Linked DNA regions of Homo sapiens: region 1 is linked to region 2. Evidence: promoter capture Hi-C in 16 types of primary human blood cells and fetal thymus (Javierre and others, 2016). All regions are on one chromosome and are shown on one strand. The core of a region is centred on a gene start or on the middle of the fragment in contact, and the rest is flanking DNA. Distances in the headings are between cores, read along the strand shown. Region 1 overlaps LYSMD2 (LysM domain containing 2). Region 2 holds the start of DMXL2 (Dmx like 2).

Evidence for each region. The method cuts DNA at HindIII sites, captures the fragments that hold promoters and counts their contacts. A CHiCAGO score of 5 or more calls a contact.
Region 1: a fragment that was not itself captured here is called in contact with the fragment with the promoter of DMXL2 in region 2 in 1 of 17 cell types (monocytes); the score reaches 7.0 in monocytes.

What each region holds. Positions count from the first base shown.
Region 1 is chr15:51,733,683-51,737,071 of GRCh38, forward strand. The region is part of intron 1 of LYSMD2 (LysM domain containing 2); the gene reads right to left. Among named protein-coding and RNA genes, the nearest start is that of LYSMD2, 2.3 kb to the right of the region's middle. RefSeq lists enhancers at 749-808, 819-878 and a silencer at 1,679-1,748. The HindIII fragment of the contact is 6,506 bases long and covers 1-3,389 here.
Region 2 is chr15:51,621,400-51,624,952 of GRCh38, forward strand. It overlaps DMXL2 (Dmx like 2), which reads right to left and starts at 1,372. Exons shown (of 44, transcript NM_001378457.1): 1 at 1,060-1,372. The coding sequence starts at 1,146. It overlaps LOC105370816 (a long non-coding RNA gene), which reads right to left. Exons shown (of 5, transcript XR_932236.3): 5 at 3,285-3,426. RefSeq lists an enhancer at 510-919 and a silencer at 1,290-1,509. The HindIII fragment of the contact is 5,213 bases long and covers 1-3,553 here.

The sequences.
Region 1 (3,389 bases), core at 599-3,098, 110 kb after region 2:
TATTAAAAATTTCAAGAGATGACAGTAGAGCATTAAACCAAGTGTGAGGCCCTTCTAAGCATGGGGTCTTCTGTGACTGCGCAGGTCACATGCCCATGAAGCTAGCCCTGTATCCAGCTATTAGAGAAAGACAGATGGAACAGCAAGTGCAAGAACCCCAAGGAAGAACAGTGCTTTGGGAACAAGCAAAGCAGCCATGCTTGTTAAAAATGGAGACTCTGGCCAGATGCGGTGGCTCACGCTTGTAATCCCAACACTTTGGGAGGCCAAGGTGGGCAGATCATGAGGTCAGGAGTTGAACACCAGCCCGGCCAACATAGTGAAACCCTATCTCTACTAAAAATACAAAAATTAGCCGGGCATGGTGGCGTGTGCTTAAAGTCCCAGCTACTCGAGAGGCTGAGGCAGGAGAATAGCTTGAACCCGGGAGGCGGAGGTTGCAGTGAGCCAAGATCAGGCCACTGCACTCCAGCCAGGGTGACAAAGTGAGCCTTTGTCTCAAAAACAAAAACAAACAAACAAACAAAACAGAGACTCCTAGACTCCTTTTCTGGGTATTCCAATCCCATAGATCCAATGTCAGCTAGGATCCTTTATTTTTAGTTTGCCCCAGAGTATTCCTGTCCTGCCCAGGCCAATTTGAGGAACATGGATCTATTCTCACATCCTGAGATATGCCCTGCTGCCAGCCCTTCAGCACCACTTCAGAAAATGGCTCCCAGCTTGTTACCCTTGTAATCCAGGGCTGGCAACCAGGTCTCCATCTTCACCCCCTTGTCGGAGTCTCTGTTCTGGGAACTTCCTTGTACCTAGACTACGACTGGCTCTTAATCAGTCTTCCACCAAAGGACTGAAGTCCTGCCTGACACCCAGCTGGGTGGCTGAGGAGTTGCCATGGAGAGACAGGCTTTCCTGAGAGTTTCTGCTCATCTGTGCAAGATTGACAGACATGGTATGTTAAGGTCAACTGTTTGCTGAACTGACTTAATTTCTAGGTGCACTGCCTTGAGTCTCTAAGCCTCCAATATCTCATTTTCGACCTTTTAAAACAATCATTTAAATATGTTGTAGATGGTCTTGCCAGTCAACAACAGAAACCTAATTTGCTCAACTTCTTTCTGTTCAGTCAGAAGAAAAATATTTTTCTGCCTTTTTAGCTTCCACCTTAAAATCTCACAATGAGTAAACCTAATTAATATCTGCAGATATTAGACCAGTGCAGTGGCTCACACCTGTAGGCCCAGCACTTTGGGAGGCTGAGGTGGGTGGATTGCTTGAGCCCAGGAGTTCCAGACCAGCCTGGGCAACATAATGAGACCCCATTTCTACAAAAAATACAAAAATTAGCTGGGCATGTGGCTTGAGCCTGTAGTCCCAACTCCTCAGGAGGCCGAGGTGGGAAGATCACTTGAGCAGCGGCAGCTGAGGCTGCAGTGAGCCATGTTAGTGCCACTGCACTCCAGCCTGGGTAACAGAGTGAGACCCTGTCTCAAAAAAAAAAAAAATCTGAAGATATTAAAACAAGAATATCACTTCACTGTTATGGTAAGTATTATCACTTTCACTGATTCTATATTACCAGTGGAGGAGTCTCTAAAAATTTTATCAACTATAAGCCAGGGCCCAAAGTAATGAGAAATACATGTAATAAACCAGTGGTCCTCAACCAGGGGTAAATTTGCCTTCTAGAGAACATCCGGCAATGCCTGAATAGGGGTGGGAGAGTGCTACTGGCATCTAGTGGGTAGAGGCCAGAGATGCTGCTAAATATTCTACACTGCACAGGACAACCCCGTGCAACAAAGAGTTATCTGGTCTATAACATCAACAGTGCTGAGGTTGGGAAACCCTGTAATGAACTATGTGTCACTATCAATTATAGTTCCTGATTCATTATCCTTGTGTTTAATATCTTAAAATCAAAAGTCTTTATAAAAGCAACGAAAAATCTGATCTACACTTTAATTTTAAAAAGGGGTAATGAGGTTATGAGTAATAGGATCTATATTAGACATAACAGGGATTAGAAAGCATTTGATCAAAGGTGGAAAACTGCAGTAAACAGATGTATAAGAGTTATCTATAATCAACTCAAGTGAAACCACAGACGGCTGTGGGTCACAGAGAGATTGCACGGGAAGACAGCATGGGAAATAACACTCTTCTGCATGTCATAGATTTTTAGGTGCTGTCACTAGCCTAGTAAGGCAAGATGCCTGAAAACCAGATAGAAAAGACTGTCCTCCTTCAGTAGCCAGGATGCTGAGAGAGCTCCTGATAAGACTAAGATAAAAATAAGGATGGATATCAAAAGTAATATCTAGAGGAAAGCAAATGCTTTATCACTGTTAATTCAAGCTGGTCTCAATGAATGATCATACTTGGAAAATATCCTTACCTCTCATCCATCTTCTCATCTGTAAAAAGATTAATTACACCTACCTCCTGGGCTTATTGTGAAAGTTAAATAAGATAAAGATGAAACAAGACAAACGCAATGCCTGCCACACAGGAGGCATTCAGCAGAGGGTAGCTACTGGTATTTCCCAACTTCGCTTTCCTCTGCCTCTGACTCAAACCAGGCCCCATTAAGGCACATAGAGAATTGTAGCTCTATGTTCACATGTATAGAACTCCCAAGAGGGCAGAATGGGGCTCTCCATGGCATGATAGAGTCAATACATGACTGCACAGCAAGGTCCCTTTCAAAATATTTCAAAGATAGAAGGACCTGATAGGTAAACATATACCGGCTTAAATATGCAAAATACATTCTCCTTCATACTGATGCTCCTTCATTCGGTAAAGGGCCAGAAAGAGTTTCACTTTAAGGGAAAGATATAGATAAGATCCTCTTTCTTCCCATTGCTGTCTAAGGTGCTTCAGGAAAGAACACTGAAAACTGATACAGATCCCAAATGTAAAAAGGCCATCACATAGCTCACAGTTAATTATAAGTAATTTTAATGAAACAATTTGTTCCCTCAGGTTTCCATGTTCTTCCCAGAGGTGTAATGCTATACACCCAAGACACACACACTTATAAATTTGTAATAAACGCAGCCCTCCAGCTCACCACAGTTCTTGGCTGCTGCTTAGCGACAGGTGTCACATTCGCGGTTGCCAGTGAGCCCAGAGGGTGTAATTTCACTTCTACATAAAGAAGCATAATCGATAGAACCAGAACCACCCAGTAGGAACAACTGCACCATTCCTGACTCATCACGGAGCTTGTTTTCACAGACAACAAAATTCACCTCAGTTGGGCTTTGCGTAAATATAGAGTAGTGTGATGGGGCCTGCAAATTGGGTGAAGGTGGTTCACGGGGATGCCAAAGCCCTAGTCCTCTTCGGCCTCCCTCACGCGACAGATCTAGTCTGAGCCTGGG
Region 2 (3,553 bases), core at 122-2,621:
CTTGTCTAAAAAGCATACCATTACGGAATTTCCAGTTTTATCAAGAAGAACAGTTTACAAAATATATTTAATAAAGGTCTGGCTGCCTACAGTTCCTTATAAGGAAGACCATGTATAAATTTCATTCTTTAAAAAAGAACTCAATTTATGGGAGTCTATCTATGAGTAAACGAAGCTCCAAGGCTTGGTTTAAACATTTCCACTCTCAAAAAGGACTGATGAGTCCAATCTCCTTGAGAAACATGTCTACTTCATCTAGCTTTTAAGGAGATTCTAAAACGTTATGTATACATACACTTTTCTCAAACAAGCACTGTTGTAAATTTTTCACATTGCCTTACTATATTAAAAAAAAGGCTACCTTACAGATTAAAATATTATCTAGGAGGATTACCAAACTACGACCTCCTGATAAATGAGACAGCTCTCCAAGCCACTGTGACTCTAACCTTTCCATTCTAAATCTTTCGGGCGCGGAGGATGAATTTTTCTATCTTTTTGTTGGAATTAAGATCCTGCATTATCAGGAGATACAGAGTCAGGCTTAAAGCCACAGACTCCAGCAGCTCCTCGCTGCCCTAGCACAGCGGGCAGGGGGAGCCAAGGCGCAGCATCGCCTCCACGCTCCGAGACCAACACCAAGTCTCTTCACCTCCACGCTCCGAGACCAACACCAAGTCTCTTCGCCTCCACGCCGAGAGCAGCTGCGAAACGGACGCTCTGGGGTTTCAGCCGCACCACCACTTTCCTCCACCGCAGACCGAAGGGCCGCCCTAGGAGGAGCCTTCTAGTCCAGTCACCTCAGGCCCGTTTGCTTGGGGTGGAGAGTGCGGTGGATTCCTAAGCCTTTCCCCTAACGGGTGATTTCCTACACCAGACGCAGGACCCACGGTCCCACGGGTCCCAGGGGGAACTAAACCCCAAGGCTGCAAAGGGGCCACGGGTGGGGCCCACCAACATCTCACAGCCTCCTGAGGAGGCGTGCGCCCTGGACAGGAGGTCCCTGCCCCCGCGTCTGGCCCCTGGTATCTTCCCCTAGGGCTCCCGGCCGCCGCTCACCGTGAAGGGGACATCCCCGACGCTGCCCACGGAGTAGCAGTTGTCTCCAGGGTTGACAGCTCCGGTGAGGACCTGATGCAGATGCATCTCCGGAGCCCGGGCTGGACAGAATGCGCGGGAGGTGCGACAAGCTCCGCGCCTGACCCTCCTCGGGCTGCGAGAGCCGTTTCCCTCTGTGCCTCCCTCGGAAACCCGCCCCGCGGAGGCTCTGGCTTAACTCCTCGCCCCCCTTTCGCCTTCCCTCCGCCTCGTCCCTGCCATGGGAGCTCCTCGACCGCCGCCGCCGCCCGGGTCGCCGCTCAGCTGCGGAAATGCCCGGATGTTCCCACTGCCTGCTGCACCGGCGCACAAATGCGGGAGGGCAAGGGTGCTTGTGAGGCGGGGGAGGGCACCGGGGGGAACGCGCGAGCCGGGAGCGTGCAGCAAGGGAGCGGGCCAGCGCGCGCGCCCACCGCGGGGGAGCGAGGTAGAGCCCTCCCCCCGCGGCAAAGCTCTCAGCTCAGTCTTTCTTCCCCCCATCACCCGCGTTTGCGCGTGCGCGCGCCGTGGTTTCCAGGGCAATTGCGCGCGCCACGCCGACCCGCCGTCCCGTGATTGCGCGCGCAGACGTGCGGGAGTTCCCTTGGAGCCTCCCGGGCTGTAGCCGCTGCGGACTGGGGCGGAGGTGGGGGCGGGGGCGAGTGGGGTGCAGGTCGCTCGGGGCCACGCAGCAGTCGGACGCCGGGGACGCGCCACGAGCCGGTTTTGCTGTGTTGAACGTATTCCAGAATACAGTGTGCAATGGTCAGTGCCGTTGACCTCAGAAGGACACCCGTCACCGGGAATTTCCACCTGGAGATATCTTAGATATCTTCAGTCTTTTCGAAAGTGCAGTACATAAGATATTTTATTTTACATAAACAATGTAGGCATCTTGCAACTATTTAGAGAAGCCATACTCCCCTGAAAGCTAATTATTTTGCTCCCACCTTTTGTCACGGTTATTCTAGACAGCAAAAAGCCGCCTTAGAGACGGGTGACTCCTTTCGACTTTTTTTCATGAGTAATTTCATGAATTAGCAGAATCGCCTGATTTTCCAAACTATCTGCTAAACTTTGAATGGTTGATAACAAGGATCATCAGCTCCCTGCCACAGGCCAATTCATGGCAAATGTTCTAACCCATACTATGCTTAAATCACAGGGTAAGGAAGTAGGGGACACCAAGACATAACTATCTGTAAAACCAGGCAGAACGCCAAAGGTGGTGTGATTGAGATATAAAAGTCTTTATGCACCACAGAAGAGGAAGAAGAATGTTGACTAAGGGCGTGGATAAGGCATTATGGAGACATAACCTGACATAAACGCTGAGTTTAATTTTGACAGGCTGAGATAGACAAGAAATGCTGCAAATACAGTACAGAAAATAGAGGGGGTGTTGAAGGTACAAAGATTAATGTTTGAGGCAGATGATTTATAGGGTAGGGAAAGTAAATAATACTTAGCAAGAGATCAAGGTATCCAAGTGGTCTAACTCTTGGCCTACCAAAACATATTATGGAGAGTCTTGAATGCTCCAAGAAGCCCAGATTTCACTCTGCATGCAGTGGGGGTATATCAGATGTTTCTGAGCAAAAATTTATATAATCAGAGCTGCTTTGGGAAGATGACTTTGTAGCATTTTGAAGCATAAAGGGAAGGGTGGGGAAGATTGGAGGCAAAGATCTGTCAGTCGTTGGTAATCTTTTCAGTAGAAAGTTGCAGGAGGAATGAAAAATAATACCTAATGACCTGCGGCATTCTCTCTCTTTCTCTCTCTCCCCCCTCCCTCCCCTTCCCTCCCCCCCCCTTCCTCCCTTCCCCCGCGCCATATCCAAGGGTTCCTTTTTGTTACTACTAGATTCTAGATGAGTCTCTTAATCTTTGACCTTCACTGCATTAGAAACCAAGTCAAAACTATCATCAAACAACAAATTGTACTCAGGTTTCCAAGAGTGTTACTAATTCACATTATTTAAACCATTTCACATTTGGCTCTTGTTTTACAGCATTCCATGAAGTTTTGGCCCATTCACACAGTTGTGAAGTTGTGAGCCTCTTTCTTCCTCTCGGTATCAAACTCAAAATCTGAAGCCTGTATCCACCTGTTCTCTTCCCTCATGAATCCTTTAAATGGCTTCTTGATAGCTGTATCTTAAGGTTGCAAATGACTAATTAAGTCTCCTGGAATTACAGCTGAGCCTTTTATTGTCCAATCTGATCAGTCAAAACTCACTCCAGACTAATATGGCAAGTTTCCTTGGTAGCCCACCAGGGCAGCTAGACCACACTTTTGACTGTCCACAATTTCATCTCTTCCTTGTTCATGCAAATTTTTTCATGGACCTAAAAACAAATTGGAAATTCTTTCTTCTAATTTTGGAAAGGGCTTTCTTTTAAAAATTAGAAAAAGTAGCAGTTTTGTATCATTAACAAAATATGCTAATCGAATTGTAAGATATAATTTATCATG